Linked DNA regions of Homo sapiens: region 2 is linked to region 1. Evidence: promoter capture Hi-C in 16 types of primary human blood cells and fetal thymus (Javierre and others, 2016). All regions are on one chromosome and are shown on one strand. The core of a region is centred on a gene start or on the middle of the fragment in contact, and the rest is flanking DNA. Distances in the headings are between cores, read along the strand shown.

What was found. The method cuts DNA at HindIII sites, captures the fragments that hold promoters and counts their contacts. A CHiCAGO score of 5 or more calls a contact.
Region 2: the fragment with the promoter of TNFRSF25 here is called in contact with the fragment with the promoter of HES3 in region 1 in 2 of 17 cell types (activated CD4 T cells and naive CD4 T cells); the score reaches 7.7 in activated CD4 T cells.

What each region holds. Positions count from the first base shown.
Region 1 is chr1:6,242,372-6,246,639 of GRCh38, forward strand. HES3 (hes family bHLH transcription factor 3) reads left to right here and starts at 1,808. Exons shown (of 4, transcript NM_001024598.4): 1 at 1,808-1,870; 2 at 1,980-2,075; 3 at 2,177-2,258; 4 at 2,739-3,207. The coding sequence starts at 1,995. The coding sequence ends at 3,136. RefSeq lists an enhancer at 1,946-2,503 and silencers at 2,740-3,091, 2,935-3,094, 3,245-3,384, 3,505-3,804. The HindIII fragment of the contact is 11,707 bases long and covers 1-4,268 here.
Region 2 is chr1:6,464,090-6,468,357 of GRCh38, forward strand. TNFRSF25 (TNF receptor superfamily member 25) reads right to left here and starts at 2,084. Exons shown (of 10, transcript NM_003790.3): 1 at 1,980-2,084; 2 at 1,351-1,471; 3 at 999-1,133; 4 at 463-630; 5 at 286-364. The coding sequence starts at 2,018. It overlaps PLEKHG5 (pleckstrin homology and RhoGEF domain containing G5), which reads right to left. Exons shown (of 21, transcript NM_020631.6): 20 at 3,736-4,268; 21 at 3,033-3,483. The coding sequence ends at 3,474. RefSeq lists an enhancer at 1,905-2,853. The HindIII fragment of the contact is 14,059 bases long and covers 1-4,268 here.

The DNA.
Region 1 (4,268 bases), core at 558-3,057:
TTGGCCCCGAGGGGGCGGGGGCGGGCGCGGGCGCCGCTTTGTGGGGCCCGCACAATGCCCTTAACACTCGGCTGCCCCTTTTGTGCCCGGCCGCGCCGCCCGCCCGCCCCGCGGTGCCTTTATACCGCGCCGCCACCGCCCCAAGCTCGGAGCGAGTCGCATGGAGGACGCCCCGGCCCGGCCGGTCCTGGCGCTTCAAAGCTGCCCGGCGCGTGCCAGCGCCCGCCGCCTGGTCTCGGCCCCCGCCGCCCTCCCAGGCCCGGGTCGGCCCGGATCTGGCCCGCGGGCCCTGCGGTCCGGGCTGGACAGAGCCCCAGAGCTGCTGTTGCCGCTGCCTCGGCCTGAAAGGGGGAGGGCGTGGCGCGATTCTCCACGCTGCTTGGCGCCTGGGAACGCCGCTATCCTGGGAAGGGTAGGCGGGGGCGGGCTGGGGGGAGATGCCCTGGCTTGATAGAGCTGGGGGGCGCACCCCACCCTGAGTCCCTACACAGAAGCCGGTTTGTTCATTCCTCTGCCACAGGGCTCAGCTGCAGAATTTTTGCGACTTCCCTGTCACCCTCAGAAGCAATGGGGGCTGCATTGTTCAGAATATAATTTTACAAGCCCCAAAAACTAAAGCCATGAGGGCCCATGGGAGGTGTCTAGGTTTGAACCCAGGGACTTCCTGGAGGTCAGCCTTCCTGTCCATCACAGCAGCTACAGTTCAGCCTCCTGGAGTCCAACCAGGGGGATGGCCCCAGAGCCTTGCTGTAGGCCTAGCCCATCCTGGGGCAAGTGCTCCAGGCGCCTCCTCCACTGGGTCCGCCGTAGTCTGAATCATAGATTGGGGTGCGGGCCCTGGATCTCTCGAAGTGTGGCCTGGAGCTCTTCCCAGAATGTCAGTGGTCTCCTGCCACCACCACCTGTGCGTGGAGCTGAGAGCAGGCTCATGGGAGTAGACTTCTAGTGCTTCTCCATGGGGACAGGGTCTACCACCAAAGCCACCCAGCCTGGAAGCCCAGGGCTGTAAGGAAGGGAGAGGCAGCCGTGTTCACCCCACCTGCCTCCTGTGGGAAGTCCGCGTTGGATCCTAGCAGTGTCAGAGAACACAGGACCCAGGCTGCACCCTCACCAGGACCCCTCCCAATCCCAAGGCCCCAGCAAGGATGAGGCTGGCTGTGGCCCCGCGGGTGGGCTGCATGCTTTAATGGGACACAGGCTGCTGCATGGCCCCCGCGGGCTCAGCTTGTGCCTGGCTTTGAGCAGCCACAGGCAGAAAATTGCTGCATTGTCCCGACATTAGGGCAACTAATGCGGCGTTGCGGGTATAACCAGAGCATGAAGTGCATAAAGAGGCGTCGCCTTGGCATCTTCATCAGTCCCGAGGGAGCCCAGAGCCCTGTCATAGTCAGTGAGGCAGCCTGTGGCCAGCTGGCCCATGTACCTCCCCAGTAGGTGACCCCTGGAATGCTTGCACTCCAGGGTATCAAGGACTTGGCAAGTGGGACTGGAGAACTTACGGGGATTGGGACAGGATGGGCATGGAGGGGGTGGGCATGGCAGGGGTCCTCAGACTGGGGAAGTGGTGGAGGCCAGAGAGATAAGGAAAAGACAGATAAAGGGGAGGGGGGGGTCCCTCGGGAGACAGGGGGGGTCCTGAAGGTGAGAGGAAGCCTAGGCTATGGGAGGGGGCTGAGGGAAGGAGGTGGGGAGCTTCCCAGTGCGTCCTCCCTCGGTCCCCTCCTCCTCAAGGTTTCTAGAGTCCAGAGGGCCTCATTGACATGTAAACGAGGGTCCCTATAAAGGCGGCGCTGCCTCGCACTGGTGCATGGACTGCAACATGGGCACGGAGCCTGCTGCCCGGGGCAGCCTCCCCGGCAACTTCCGAAAGGTCTGGGGTCTTGAGGGACTAGGGGCAGGCACCCTTCCCCGGGAGGTGTGGGGGGGTGCCGAGGGCAGGAGGGTGGCAGTCCTGCACTCTAAAGGCTGTTCATCTGCAGATTTCCAAGCCGCTGATGGAGAAAAAGCGCCGGGCACGCATCAATGTGTCACTGGAGCAGCTCAAGTCGCTGCTGGAGAAACACTACTCGCACCAGGTGAGACTCAGGCGGGGTGGGGGTGGGTGGGTGATACGATCCCAACCTCCCTCTCTCCACCTCGGGAGGCCGGTCTAATAGACCTTTCCATGGTCGGGTAGATCCGGAAGCGCAAATTGGAGAAGGCCGACATCCTGGAGTTGAGCGTGAAGTACATGAGAAGCCTTCAGAACTCCTTGCAAGGTATAGGGGAGGGCTGGAGGGAGGAGGGGGAGGCTTGTGGGATCAGAGCCAGGGATGCACAAGGCCAAATAAAGAGGGATACCTCAAGGACCGCTTGACCCCGGGCTTTTGAGACCAGCCTGGGCAACATGGCAAGACAGCAAATATAAAGAGGACAACTCGGAGGCAGGTGCAGTTGGTGAGGAGGGGGCCCCAGCTCGCTAGGGGGCGAGGGAGGAGCAGTAAAGCCCGGGCTGGCTGTGCGATTGCAATCTGGGTGGTAGGTCTGGACCCCGGGGGAGACGTTCGGGTCGTCTGACCTCCGCCCTCCTCTTCCCTTCCTCAACACGCTTCCTCCCTCCTTTCCCCTCCACCTCCACTCCCCTCTCCTCCCTCCCTTCCTCCCCTCCCCTCCCTCCCCCTTCCCCTCCTCTCCCTCCCCCTCCCCTTCCCCTTCCCTCTCTTCCCCTCCCTGTTTCTCGCGTCCGCTCTTCCCCACAGGGCTCTGGCCTGTGCCCAGGGGAGCCGAGCAACCGTCGGGCTTCCGCAGCTGCCTGCCCGGCGTGAGCCAGCTCCTTCGGCGCGGAGATGAGGTCGGCAGCGGCCTGCGCTGCCCCCTGGTGCCCGAGAGCGCCGCCGGCAGCACCATGGACAGCGCCGGGTTGGGCCAGGAGGCGCCCGCGCTGTTCCGCCCTTGCACCCCTGCCGTCTGGGCTCCTGCTCCGGCCGCCGGCGGCCCGCGGTCCCCACCACCCCTGCTCCTCCTCCCCGAAAGTCTCCCTGGCTCGTCCGCCAGCGTCCCCCCGCCGCAGCCAGCGTCGAGTCGCTGCGCCGAGAGTCCCGGGCTGGGCCTGCGCGTGTGGCGGCCCTGGGGAAGCCCCGGGGATGACCTGAACTGAAGGCGCTCCCTATTTGGTCTCGCGACACAGGGACTATTTTCAGCACGCCCACAGTGACTGCCAGGACCCCCCAGTCGTCCGTTCTGGTCGTGGGGCGGGGGTGGCTTGGAGAGGGCCGCGCACCCCGCAAGCGCAGGGAAATACCCCCAGCCCTGCCGGACTGGGTCTGCGCGTCTGGGCATAATCCACCCCCACTCTAGCTCCACCTACACACGCCGGACCGCTCGCTCTCCGCCCATCCTCCGGAGGGGCTGGGAGGGGGTGTCCTGGGCTGCGCCCCTTTCCCAGGGACCCCTGGCGGGCAACCCGCCCGCCCCCACCCCCGCCCGGTTGCCGCGCAGCGGTGGGAATGTCGCAGTTGGCAACAGCGCAGAGCTGACCCCTCGCAGCGAGGAGAATCGCTGCCCCGCCCCGGACCATTCAGCGGACCGCGGGCGCCCGGTTCCCACCGGCACAAAGCGCGCCTGGCCCCGCCCCGCCGGCAAGGGGCCCCCAGCCTCCCCCAACCCGGGATCCTCTTGACTTCCAAGGACCTCCTTCGCAAGCGGTGCTGCCCACCGGGCTGGCGCATTCCCCGAGGCCCACCCTTCTCAGAAGCCCCGCCCCTAAGATGCACCGCCCCAACCGGACGCCCCGCCCACGCGGTTCCTGGAAGGGACCCATTGCTTGGTGGCACCAGCTTGAAGGCTGCAAAAGTGAACCCGGTGCCTCTCGTGGGAGAGGGGAACGCCTTCCGCTCGACAAAGACCCTGGCCCACATTCCAAGCCCGGACCCCGTAGACCCCGCAGCTCCAGATCCCTAGGGCTGCCGGAGAATCCAATCCCTGGACGGCTCTCGGAGCGCGCTGCGCCACTTTATTGGTCCATAATGAGGTCACTGCTGCGCACGGACTTCGGTGGTGGGAGGCTCTCAAGTCAGATTTTCTTCCCCTGGGCTTCTGGCCCAGGAGTCCGGGCCAGCGAGGGGCAGCTTGGGTTGTGGGGTCAGAGATCCTGGCACCCTCTCCCGACACCTTGTAATTCAGAATAAAGCCAGCGCGAATCTGCGAAGTCGGTATCAAGAGGACACCAGAGGTCTAATGTCTCCCACCCCTGCGATGCCTAGTTAGGTGCATCTTTTGTAACCACAAAT
Region 2 (4,268 bases), core at 834-3,333, 220 kb after region 1:
CTCTCTGTGTAAGTGACAAATCATCTGTAATATCTGGCTAGGATCGCTGGGGGGAATGCTGGCTGAAAGTGAAGGCAAATACCCTTATGTATCTGGCTAAGGCGGATCCAGATTGCTCTTTTGCCATCTAAGTTTGCCTGAAGTGGGGCCCACCCATCACAGGGCCAAGGCTCCCTCCTCCCTATCCCCTCTTCCTATTCCTGAACCAGCAGCACCTGCCCCACCCCAGGCCCCTGCTCTGCTCCCAGCCGCCCTTCCCTCCATCCCACGACAGCTAGGAATTACGTGGGGCAGGACACGCAGCCATCGCCATGTTCATAGAAGCCAGGCAGGCAGGTCCCACAGTCAGTATCTCTGCGGGAACCTGCAATCCAGGAGAGGCATGCGTCACCATGGGACAGGAGTGGGTCAGGCAGGGAGAAGGGGGTCTGGGAGTAGAGAGCCCTGGGTGGGGGTACTCACAGAGTAGCCGTGTGTGGCGGTGCAGGGCCCCGCAGTCTAGGCATGGTTGGCAGTAGAAGGGTGAACTGCTGACACATTGGCTGACCTGGCACTCCACAAACCAGCCTGGCTTACAGCCACAGCGGGTGTCGGCCACTGCTGAACAGTTCTCCAGCGCCACCTGGGAGGCTGGTGGGGGTGCAGGGAGATGGGGAGTGGAGAGTTAGTCAGGGCCAAAGGCTCCCATGGAGAGGCAGAGGCATTATCCCAAGATAATGGAGACAGAAATAGGCGAAAGACAGACAGGTACAGGGCTACCCTAAAAAAGAGAGAAGCTCAGAGATTAAGGCCGACCAGAGGCCAAGGCACATGGAGAGATGGGAAGGTCACCAGGAAGAGAGAAGGGGCAAGGGCACCCTGAAGGAGGATCAGGGTGGAGGGTTCTGGCAAGGGTGGGTGCAGGACCCTCACACCCCAAGTTTGGGCCCGAGCCAGCCACTTCCTTCAGAAAGGCCTGTCCTTAGGAACTCCCTGCCAAGCACTGAGAAGCCCCTCACCCTGCTCATCACAGGCCTGGCAGCGGGCACATTCAGAATTATGGTGGTTCTCCCAGGCCAAGAAGGTGTCTTGGGGACACACAAGGCAGGTGGAGTTGCCGCAGGGCTCCGTGCAAGGGGCCTTCAGGTAGTGCCCTGTGGAACCAGGCAGGGGTCAGGCAGGCAGAGGGGCTGCCCAGCAACCCCCGACCTGCTTCCCACCCTGCCCTCCCTCCCTCTTTCTCTCCAGCTCCCTACTTCTCTGTCAGCCTACCCCTACCTCCCCTGCCAGCCTCCTCTTACCTCCCGGGCCTGCCCGCCACCTCTCCAGCCCTGCCTGCCCCATGCCTCTCCCACCCCTGTGGCCACTTACCCGCTGGGCAGCCTCTGCAACAAAACAGACCAATCTTCTTGTGGAAGTCACCGGCACAGTCACACCTGGGGCTACGAGTGCCGCCCTGGGCCCGGGCCCCCAGCAGCACCAGGAGGAGCGCCTGGGGGACAGGTGCTGCTGACTCTCAGCGCAGCTGCCCACGTGGGGCCTCTCCCTGCTGCGTCTCCTCCATTTCAGAGGCCCCAGCATTTGCCCACAGAGCAGCCCACTTCCCAGGCCCCGGGCAGAAGGGGTGCCCATGGGTGGAGAGGAAACTAACTTCCTTCCCCCCGCGCACACACCAGGCTTCGGAGGGGGCGCTTACCAGCCCCTCACAAGTTTCCCCTCCACCAGAGCAGGAATCCAGCAGCGCCCCCACCCCCACCCATGCTTTCTGTTGGGGGAGGGACACTGATAATGCTCTGCCTGGGGCCCCCAGACCCTCCTGGGAGGGGTTTCCTCTCAGTGGAAGGGCTACGCCCTGGAGGAGCCTTTAACGAGATCGGAAAGGGCGGCCAACCCAGCCCCCAGTGAGGCTTGGAGTGGAGACGCGCCCGGGGCCCCTTCCTTCACCGAGGCTCTTGGGACAGGGCTCAAAGCTGCCCCTAGCCTCCTGCGTCTCAACTCACCGCCGCCACCGCCGCGCAGCCCCGCGGCCGCTGCTCCATAGCCCTCCGACGGGCGCCCAGGGGCTTCCCGGCTCCGTGCTCTCTGCCCGTCGTGGTTCCGCCTTCAGCCCCGCGCCCGCAGGGCCCGCCCCGCGCCGTCGAGAAGGGCCCGCCTGGCGGGCGGGGGGAGGCGGGGCCGCCCGAGCCCAACCGAGTCCGACCAGGTGCCCCCTCTGCTCGGCCTAGACCTGAGCTCATTAGGCGGCAGCGGACAGGCCAAGTAGAACACGCGAAGCGCTGGGCTGCCTGCTGCGACCAGGGGCACAGGATAGAGCTGCATCTCGGTCCCCACCCCGACTCTCGCCCCAACCCTGAGAACCACTTCAAGGTAGAGCCAGGGCAAGTGACTTCTCTCTCGGCCTCCGCGTCCCCAGCCATGGAGGAGGTTGGGCCAAAAGTACCGCAAGGGGCCAAGCGCAGTAGCTCAGGCCTGTAATTCTAGCACTATGGGAGGCAGAGGCGGGCGGAACACTTGGGGTCAGGAGTTCGAGACCAGCCTGACCAATATGGTGAAATGCCGTCTCTACTTAAAATACAAAAACTAGCCCGGCGTGGTGGTGCACACCTGCAGTTCCAGCTACTAGAGTGGCTGGGGCAGGAGAATCGTTTGAACCCGGGAGGCAGAGGTTGCAGTGAGCCGACATCACACCACTGCACTCCAACCTAGGTGACAGAGTGAGACTCTGTATTAAAAAAAAAAAAAAAGTTCCTGAAGGGACCCCCATGGAGGACCCACCTTCCCAAGAGGGCTGGCCTGAGTGTGGGAACTGGGCAGATTCAGCCCTGAATCCCCGGGGGGCACCTGGGGAGAGGCTCTGATGGTGGCTGAAGGTGGGGAAGTCTGGGGGTGTTGGTCTGGTGGCACCCCACACCCCATTACTTCCCAGTGCTTCCCATGGCAAGCTCCATCCGTGGCCCATCCGTGGCAAGTGGAGGAGCACAGGAACACAAGGAGGCCGCCCTGAACTCAAGTGCCCCGAGTCACTGGGCCCCAAAGCAAAGGACTCTTCCCAGTGGAGTCTAGACAAGTCTTTATAAAAGAACCAAAAGCTCAATAAATACGTAACTTCACAGAACCCAGCCCAAGCCAGGGGTGGCCTGTGGGACTGGGAAGGTGGGGGCAGGGCAGGAGTGAATCCCACTGGAGGCCAGTGAGGGTAGAAGTAGGATGGGCAGCCTAGGAGCCCAGCCCTGAAGACTCGAGCTGAGCTGGTAACTTCGGGGAGTAGGTGACGAGGGGCTGCCTGGGCAGGTGGGGTGGTACTGTGGCCTGGGCCTCCTCCACTCCATCCAGTCCGGCAAAGCGCAAATCGGGCCCGGGCGTAGGCAGGGATCCTGCCCAGCATCCGGCTCATGCATACAGGAGGCAGTAGCTGAAGCAGGTGCCGGCACGCCCCAGGAGGCAGGCTGTCTGCTGTCTCTTGGTCAATGGCACTCTTGGGGGCCTCCCTCTGCTCAGACCTCCCTACAGGGTGGGGAGGGGACAGAGTCCTTCTTTGGCTGACGCCATTCAGAGTGGCTCTGGTCACCCTCTCTTCCCCACGGCACTCCTCAGGCCCCTTCACTGCTGCCCACCACAGCCCCCTGCGCCCAGACACTGGGCAGGGTTCAGGCTCCCTCCGCCATGACCCTCCCCAAATGCGATGCTCCCAGGCATGAGTGGGCCCCCATGCCAGTGCCCTGAGCCACCTGCCCTACCCCAGTCCAGGCCACTCACGAGGCAGTGAGCGTGGAGTTAAGCAGCAGGGTGGTCCTGATTCGGTAGAGCTGGGCCAGGGTCAGCTTCCTGTGCTGGGCAGAGACCCCTGGTGGGGGCTCAGGCTGGACCCTGGGAGAGGCCCCCGAGGGCAGGTCTCCACACCTCTTCCTGTGGGAGCCTGCAGGTTCCCCGGCCAGGCAGCCGACTAGCCCAGGACCGCTGCCAGGGCTAGGGGCCCCTCGGCAATCCCAGCTGGGCCCAGCTTCCTGAGGGGAGCCCTGAGTCCTAATACCTGGGGCTGGAACAGCCAGGCAGAGCTCTGACAGGCTGCGGCTGGGGGCAGAGGGTGTCCCATGGGTGCCAGCCCCTGCCAGCAGCTGGAGGAGGCTGGCCTCGGACTTAGACTTGAGCAGGTGGGGCGGGCAGCTCAACAGCTGGACAGGGGTGCGGCGGCGGAGACGGGGCGAGGGTGGAGGGGAAGGAACTCGTGGGGACTCTGGGGCCCGAGGCACTAGCTCTGCCATTGGGCCTGGGGCCACAAAGTCTTGTAA